Linked DNA regions of Homo sapiens: regions 2 and 3 are each linked to region 1. The links are contacts of gene promoters, found by promoter capture Hi-C in blood cells and fetal thymus (Javierre and others, 2016). All regions are on one chromosome and are shown on one strand. The core of a region is centred on a gene start or on the middle of the fragment in contact, and the rest is flanking DNA. Distances in the headings are between cores, read along the strand shown.

Region 1 (2,920 bases), core at 266-2,765:
TGAAAAGGGGTCCATAGACCACCAAAATTCTGGTTCATAGCTCTAATTTGTTTCAGTTGAGGTACTTTCAACAACTTCCCAGGGAAATTTGTTTACAATGGTCTCAATTTAGGAGAATTTAGGAACTAGAGGTCAAAGTCTTAGGCTATCCCATATTAACCTAGACTGCTACTCTATACTAGTTCATATTACTCTAGTATGGCACATTTGAAGACATAAATTTGCTGTGGAACAAACCATACACTGTTCTCAATCTTATCGTAGCATTTGAATGGTATGTGTATGCGTGCAGTACAGGGAGAAGGGTGTATAGGCCTGTCAAGCTTGTCTGATCACAATTAAACCTCCTATGCTTGTATATGACAACTGTCATTTGAGTTTCAAAATGACCATATAAGTGGAGCTGATCTCCCCAAAAATACACTAATTACCAAACTAGAGCTTTTCCCACTACTAAGCTATGTATGAAAAAGCACAGTGTAAGAAAGAGAAATGAGGTAATGCTTCTTTCCTAGGTGTTTTGCTCGTGTCACCTGCTCTTGGGAAACCTAAAGATGACAGGTGGCATTTCTAAGTGATAGTTTTTGCAAGCACAGTACCAGCTTCATACGTTGTCTCAGTAAGCTAAAAGCTAAGAATATTTTATAAGACCTCCAATACTCATATTGAGGATAAACTTGCCAACAATAATTGGGAGTCATTCTCTCATTTGGCTTTCCCAAAGGCCAGTTTTGTCCCCAGACGCAAATTGCATCAACCTTCCCAAAGTTGTCCCTTTTGGGTCATCCTATAGGGGAGTGCTCTTCTGCACAATTCTCAGATCCTACTGATAAAGCAGGCCAGTACTGTAGTTATTTTAGATTTTCCAAGAAAACTCAAACAGGTTTTTAATGTATTTTTTGTGGCATTTACAAATCCTGGTTCCTCTCCAGTCTCTGGAGTCCCCTCATGGTGAAATGGAAGCGTCAAGGAACCTGGGTGGCTTCGAGTCCCCACAGCTACCGACTGAGCAACTTAGCTGATCCATCTTTGTTGACAACTGTTTCCCAATCTGAAAAATGCGTGAATTCTCTCTTTCCATTTCTAACATTCTTTGCATTGCACTGTTTGAAAAATTCGGATGACATTTAGAATGTGACTAATGTCGCAACACATTAGGCCACTCTCAAGAGAGGCCTGAACAGGTTTGGCGTAAAAACGGCAGTGAGGTGAGGCTGGTGAGAGGGGAAGTGGCGACAGTTCAGTCAACTCCCTCAAAACCAGTCTGGCCTTCACCAGGCGGAGATGGGTGGGGCCGGGAAGACGGGCGTTGACGACAGAAGGCTACTTCCGGCTGTGGTGCGTATGACGTCAGGGCGAGTCGGACCGACCCAGCCACCGAGAAGCCGAGGAGGCAAGGCTCGCGAGAGTTCAGGGAGGCCGCCCTGAGATTCCGGCGAGGCCGCGGGTCCCACCTCCCGGGGGCGGGGCGAGGGCGGAGCGGGGAGAAGGGAGCTGACGGGCGCCCGGCCGGCTGCGGTCCGTGCGGAGGCTGAGCCGGCCGCGGGCGCGACCGGAGGCAGGTGAGTTCGCGGATGTAGCGCTCGGCTGAGGGCCCGAGCTCGCCGCGCCAGCCCCAACTCTGCGAGCAGGAGCAGGAGGAGATTTTAGGTGTCTTTGGGTGTCCAGGGAAAGCCGGGCTAATTCTGGGGCTGGAAATGTCTCCGGGGAACCTGCGGCGACGGCCTTGGCCCTCTTATTCCCCGGGGTGATACTGGCCCCATGTGTCCAGAGAGGGAGCCTCGCACCCGGGGAGGAATCTTTGTCCTCTGCTCCTTTCTCCTTCCACTCCCCGGCCCCCGAGCACTCCGCTCCGGGTCCCCGCCTGGGCTTCACAAACAATAACAAATGTCGCGGATCCTCTCCGGGTAGCCCCAGCGCTCCCGTCCCGTGCCCTCCAGCCGATGTCACCCAGAGCCAGGATCCGAAGCATGGCTCTTCAATTGTGGGGGCTGTTTGTGTACCGTTCCTAAAAACTGATGCGTCAGATTGCCAAACATTTCTCAAGACAGACTCAGGAAAGCCTCCCAGCTCCTAGAAGCCACGGAGTGCTCAAAACCAGTCTTAGAATCTGTCTTTACCATTGCACCCGTAGCCCCTTCCTTTCAAAATCATTTCTCCCACTCCTTTTTTCACCTTTAGTATCGAGGTCGAACGAGTGGTTATTTGGTGTGGGAGTAGAAAAGAGTATAACCGATTGAGTAGGGCACGTTTCACCTTTAAAAAGTTGCCAGGTTGACAGCAAAAGAACAAACTTTATTTTCAAAACCAGTGGCCTCCCCTTTTACTGGTGCTGCTTTTGTTTTGTGGAATAGCTTTTCGGGTTCTAAGTTTGGAGGAATGATATAAAAAGAAGTGGGAGGTGGGGGGAGGGCTAGTGGCTCTGGAAGTAGTGGCTTGTCCAAAAGTAGGATGCTATTGTTTCTCACTTGATAAAATGCAGAACCAACACTTTTACCCATTTCACATAACTTGTGATAAGTTTTGAGAGAAGCCACTTAATCGGAAATGGCCTATTAGCTTATTTTACTGCTCAAATCTGAAAAAACAGCTTTAAGTGATTTAAGTTCTGCCTCTTGATTGTAAGATGGGGATTGATGAGTGAGACCTTGTCTTTTTTGGCGCTGGGGCTTACGTTTGACCGGTCTCTCTACTTTAAGGCAGGGCCTATTGTACTTAAGCCCATTTTTGCTTCCTCAGTACAGATTCTTGAAAGTTCTTTGTCTCAATCATATATGTATATAAGGTACTGTAAACCTCTTTGAATTTGATTGGCCTTTCTCTCTGTGCCTCAGGATATGTAAAACAATTAAGTTTATTATACTCTCTCCCCAGTGGCTGAGAGGTATTGTATGTGAATTAGCCACCCTTGTGACTATTT
Region 2 (2,920 bases), core at 147-2,646, 2.0 Mb before region 1:
TATTTTGTTTTCTTGTCTCTCTACCATCAGAATGTAAGCTCCATGAGGGCATGGGTTTTGGTCTGTTTCATTTACTGCTAAATTTCCAGCACCTAAGACAGTCTCTGACACAAAAAGGCATTCAATAAATATTTATGGAATGTTGAATGAGTGAATCTGTGGACCCTCTGTGGATTCTAAATCCTAATCCATGAACTCTGTGACTCTAAATCTTTACTTTAGACAGAGTGTCTTAAACCTCCTGTCAATCTCTGTCTTCATCTTAACAAAATCTGCTTTGAAACTTAGGTCACCTTCTGATAAGCCACATTCCGTGCAGCTCAGAGATACTTATCTCGTACATAATAGACACAAGGAATTCTTAAATGAATGAATTTGCGCTTATGTGTATGCTACTTTGTGGTCACTCAAGCATAAATCACAGATTTATTTTGTACAACATCAAGTGCATGATAAGTTCTTGTTTCCTCTTACAGCTGTGAATATGATGTTCTTCCTATAGTTGATGTTCCATACATCTTAAAAGGACTATAATATAGAAGAGGGGAAAGCTTTATATAGCACTTTTATGCTGATTATAAAAATTCTGGCATTAGCAGAAACCTAATCCATCCACATGGTCTCAGTTATCATCTAGGCTCATGATTCGTAAAGCAAATCTGCATCCAACCATTTGTTCCACGCACCCCACACTCCAGTTTTACCTCAGACACTTTCTCTTTCCTTTTCACTTCCACAGCAATTTATACATATGGTATGTCAGGTCTTTCTGCCGTTCAGTCCTGGGTACTTTCTTAGAAGCCGGCACCACCTCCTTGCAACATTACCTTTCTTTCCTTAACATAGAGGTCTCAAGGGTAAATGCTTTAGGAATCACCTGCCATGCCTACCAAAAATGCAAGTTCCTAGGCCCCTCACCCAGATATTTTATTCAGTTGGTCTAAGGTAGACCAGTAATCTTCATTTTTAGCAAATCAAATGATCCTAAACTGGTAGTTCACTGTGTGCACATTGAGAAACTCTGATGTAGATATTCAAATTCTTGGCACCTGCACTTTCTACTGTCTTCAGGGGTTCCTCTTTCTCGAGCCTGGTGGCTCCCTTGAACAGTCTCCCTGGCTCTCCCTTCCCTTGCTCTCTCCAAGGACAAGCACACTGAAGTAGCCTGTGATCACAATGGGAAAGGGGGGAGGAAATAAAAAGTATAAGCATGGGGATTCCAGGCCTGCTCTCAGCTACAACTGAAGTTTCTACCCTCTACTGTCAGACTGTCCTGGGAAGGCAGCCACGTACAAAGGTGTGCACGTACATACCCTTTTTATCTGCTGTACAGATAAAAGACCATACTGACCCTTTCTTTCACAAGAAACCCTCTTCTGCAGATAGAATTAAAGCCAGAACAACAGGAGTACCCTTATGTTACCTGGGCTCTTAGAAAAAAGGTATAAAATGCTAGGACACCCTCAGAGCACTGCAAATGCTGAGGATTTACTTTAAGGCAATAAGGACACTTTAAAAAACCCTATCATCAGGCGGAGAGCTGCTGTTCAGTCCAGCAATCAACTGCACTTGTGAGCCAGCAACAGGCTGTGGGGCCCTGCTCATCCCTTCATTAACAAGTATCCATTGCCTATGACTCTAGTAATTTTGCCATTCTCATAAATCACCATCTGTCCACTGCTTTTTCATGTAGTCTTAGCTTCTACTGCTATCTGTGCTTCTAGTGGTCACTCTCTGTGACTAACATTCAAAGCATTCCAAGAGAGAAGATCTGGCCATGTCTGTCATTCACTGTTCAATAGGAAGGGCCTTTATGGGACACAATTTTCCTGATTGGTGGCTGGCCTTCTTTATGTCTGGCTAAAAGATTATTGTGTTTGTTTGTGTGTCAACCCTGGGTCCAGACGGTTGTGGCCAGAGTAGCAGGACGCAGAGCAGGGGAACTTGAGCAGGAGGAGCCATCTACGATGCTTTCATGGACTCTACTTCAGCACAACCTTTTGACTCTGGCAGGAATTTGAACACATGAATGGGTGCTGCTTAATTCACTTACTCTGCACTTTATCCTTACTGGACACTTATTTCATTATACTTTGTATACCTTTTTTGCAAATATGTTTTCCCATAACTGCTTTACTAGGTTGTAAATTATTCCAGGCCCATTTCTTTTAATTCTATGTTTTCATAGTTCTTAGCACATTTGGGTCCTCTGTAAATATTCCTGAAGTGAATGAAATTATAACAAGCTTCAGTCCTCTCTCTTCACAGGCACTTCATTCTCATCAAACCAATTTCCTGGACCATTTCTAAATGAATATTCTGTTATCATGGCAAATGCCTGTCCAAAGCCAAATTCCCCATGTTATTCCCTCTAACGAATTCCCTCTCTCAATTCCTCCATCTTACCTGAGTGACATCATGGTCCTCCAGAACATTTAGACATGAAAACTTAATTTTTAACCCAGTCCTTATTAAAATTAGTCACAGCTCCTTTTAATTATACTTCCTGAGTATTTTCCCATATCTGCCTCTTCTGTATTCCTTCCTTCTCAGCTACATTTCTGGAATAACTTCTTCATTGACTTTCCTACCTCCTGGCTTTCTTTGTCTCAATTCAGTTTTATGATGTTGCCAAATTAACCTTTCTTCCGCATGTCTTTTATCATCATCAAACATTTACTCTGTGCCTGCTCCATATAGGCTACATGCATACTGGGTATATATTTGAACAGTGGAAAGAGTTACAAGCTAAGTACCTAATGAGTACCTAAAGATGATAAGTACCTTTAAAATTATAGGGGAAAATGATCTCTGGTCCCAGTTAAGTCTCCCCTTCCCGGAGACTTAATCTTGCTTCCAAGTCTGTAATAACTTCTTATATCCAGCTGAATCCAGTCCAAATCCTTGGTGCCTAGCTTTT
Region 3 (2,920 bases), core at 304-2,803, 1.1 Mb before region 1:
CATTTCTAGCTAATGTAAAAGTCCTTCGTGTGTTTGCCCAGCCATGTCTCTCCAGAGGCTCCACTGGCAATCACTTTCCATGGAAAGGTTAAGAATTGACCTGTGACATAGAAAGGAGTAGGCTGAGCCTCCTTTTACATAACTTTTGAACAAATCTCGGGTGGTGGGCAATAACCAAAGTCATCGCCTGGATGGCCAGAAACAGGGAACTAAATGAAAAATAGTTTCACAATGATAGGAACTAAAACTCCAAATTTTACATAGCTATTAAAGTGTTGTTTCTAGTGCCTTGAAAACGTGCTTAAGGTTAGCTCTTTGGAGGGGAGGGAAGGGCCATTTTTTTTCAATTCAATATAAAGTTTGCTAAGAAATGTGTTATATAAAATTAATCTTTTTAAAGATTATGTAAAATATATGTATGTAAAATTAAATTTTTATGAGTATAATACTATACTCATAAAAACATTGACTCAAGATTCATATTTGCCTGAAGTTGGAAAATCATTTTAGCTGAAATTTCACCACTACAAGTATAGAAGCCTCTTTAGTGAATTATGACTTCAGCCTTTTAATTCATTAAAATAAATCAATGACTAAAATAAAGTTTTTTCAGATTTTCAGATACAATATAGACAATATTATTTTTGCATTTCTGTTCTAACTTTATCTTACCATGTTACCATATGGGCACTTGGACTAAATAACTGACTTGTAAAATCTGGCCCAACTCTGAAGATTTTTTTATCTCATTATACCAAAATTATACACATGCTAAAAACACTGTATTATCCTCTGATTCACTTTTAATCCTTTTTGGTTATGAAACTAATATTACTACAGTAGTGGCATCAAAATATAGCTCAAAATATTTGAAATGCTGTTTTTCCCATTATTCTGATTCAGATAATTTTTCTAAAGTTCAATAAATTAACAATGCTGAAAAATCCTACATAGTTTTCTAGTGTTGATTTCAATTTCCTTTGTTCTATGGTTTGTTACGAAGCTTCATGGGGGCTGCTCAATCAAGTTCAGCTTACTTGGTCCAAGATACTGCAATGGGAAGTAGTTGAGTGACTGAGGGATATAATAGAGCTGGCCACTAGTGCTAGTGCTGACTCTAGGTAGCTCTGTGACCTTGGGAAGATACTTAATATCTCTGGGCTTCCTTTCTTTTTTTCCTATCACGAAATGCAGGGGACTGGATGAGCTGTGGCTCCTTCTGGCTTCATACTGTTATGACTTGCAGTTCAGTTGCCATAAAGTCAGCAGAGGGAGCACTTTTTCTACATCTTATACAATCTGACTCTCATTTAAACATTTTCAAAAATCAAGGGGTTTGTGAAGAACATTCCTGAAACTAAAAGCTGACAATCCTTCACTGTTTGTATCATATCACAGATTTGAATGGAAATTTGAGAAAAGTCTAGAAATTATTTCTGATCCTGGAATTCCATGATAAAGTCCCATGACAGAATTATTTTATAAAAAGAAGCCAAAACACTCTCATATTAAGCACCCCTTTGTGATCATCTATTTATACAAGACCCAGTGAAAGAGGAACACCTGACCATACTAGAGAGGCTATGTGATGTCACAGACGAAAACTGAAAAACTTGTCAATCATTAAAACAATAGAAAATTGGGTCTAACATAAACAAACCACACAAGTTAATTGGTAGGTTTTTCTTTTGCACTTTTCATTAAGATACATTGGGAACGAGCAGGTAGACAAAGCCAGAGCCTGGAGGCTTGCAAGAGATTGGAAATGTGTGACATCAAGCCAATGACAAAAAAAAGCTGTAAATCTGAGAACTGTAGTGATTTGTATCCCTATAGTTATAGATATCTTAAAACTAATTGAGCATCCATTATGTCTTTTTTAATTATTAGACAATATCATATCGTATATTAAAGTTTTTATTCCTTAGTAAGAATTTTTAAATCACAAAATAGTGTGGCAATATTTAGGTAATAGAATTTATGGAGTGCTGAAAATACTAGAATATAAAGGTAATTTCTAGTTTATCGTCACATACTAAACTTTTCTAAACCAGCTGGTTTCTCACAGACAGTATTTATTTTTTTAAAATAATTTAAGACAGCATAAGCTTGTACCAAGCATAAGCATTGTAACAAAAGTGCAACTTTTCAGCAAATCCTCCCCAAAAGATATTTTAACTCAAAATATCATTAGCACATATTTTCTCCCTACAAAAATAGCATGTCAGACATCATTAATTGGATGTATTAACAACTATGTACATAAGAGCCACCTTGTAGGCTAAGAGTTTAACGTTGTTTAAACACAGCGTTTGAGGCAAACAGTAGCAACAGCAGCAGCAAATGCACCAAACTGACGAAAAGACCCAGATATTTTCCTCACTCATAGTCAGACTGTTGTGTCTCACCCCTTACATAACATCCAAGTGAGATTTCTCACAGTGCTACCTTGGCAACAAACTAAAAATATCTAGACAAGGTCTTGGTTTAAGCCTTATTAAAAAAGCTTTCTTTGTGATTATCTGGTATCTGGTTTGGTCTCCAGAAAATACATAGACTTGGAGATAGGAAGGCCTCACAGGACTTCATTCTATATCTTTACAGCATTTGCAATCAAAACTGGCCAGTTAAATGCTTTCGTTCACTTTTGAATTTTAACAGAATATAGGATATATCAGTTTGGACTTGTTTTTTGTTGTTGTTGTTTTTTGTTTTGTTTTGAAGTTCAGTGCACTTTTTTTTACAGTAAGATTACAAAAATTTAGGAACATGATGGATTAATGAGAGTGGGAATAGATGCACTTGAGATGTGTATGTATAGATACCTATCTATGGATAAATAGAAATCTGTACAGATAGATATCTATCTATATATGGACTTAGAAGAAATTAAGATGAGTCCATTAATTCATGGTCAATT

What was found. The method cuts DNA at HindIII sites, captures the fragments that hold promoters and counts their contacts. A CHiCAGO score of 5 or more calls a contact.
Region 2: a contact is called between a fragment that was not itself captured here and the fragment with the promoter of STK38L in region 1, in 1 of 17 cell types (naive CD8 T cells). The highest score is 5.4, in naive CD8 T cells.
Region 3: a fragment that was not itself captured here is called in contact with the fragment with the promoter of STK38L in region 1 in 2 of 17 cell types (activated CD4 T cells and fetal thymus); the score reaches 7.7 in activated CD4 T cells.

The regions. Positions count from the first base shown.
Region 1 is chr12:27,242,771-27,245,690 of GRCh38, forward strand. STK38L (serine/threonine kinase 38 like) reads left to right here and starts at 1,516. Exons shown (of 14, transcript NM_015000.4): 1 at 1,516-1,562. RefSeq lists enhancers at 227-286, 2,875-2,920 and a silencer at 1,345-1,584. The HindIII fragment of the contact is 3,512 bases long and covers 322-2,920 here.
Region 2 is chr12:25,252,825-25,255,744 of GRCh38, forward strand. No RefSeq gene overlaps it. Among named protein-coding and RNA genes, the nearest start is that of KRAS, 3.4 kb to the left of the region's middle. The HindIII fragment of the contact is 1,695 bases long and covers 550-2,244 here.
Region 3 is chr12:26,118,358-26,121,277 of GRCh38, forward strand. BHLHE41 (basic helix-loop-helix family member e41) reads right to left here. Exons shown (of 5, transcript NM_030762.3): 5 at 1,673-2,920. Among named protein-coding and RNA genes, the nearest start is that of BHLHE41, 5.2 kb to the right of the region's middle. The HindIII fragment of the contact is 1,105 bases long and covers 1,002-2,106 here.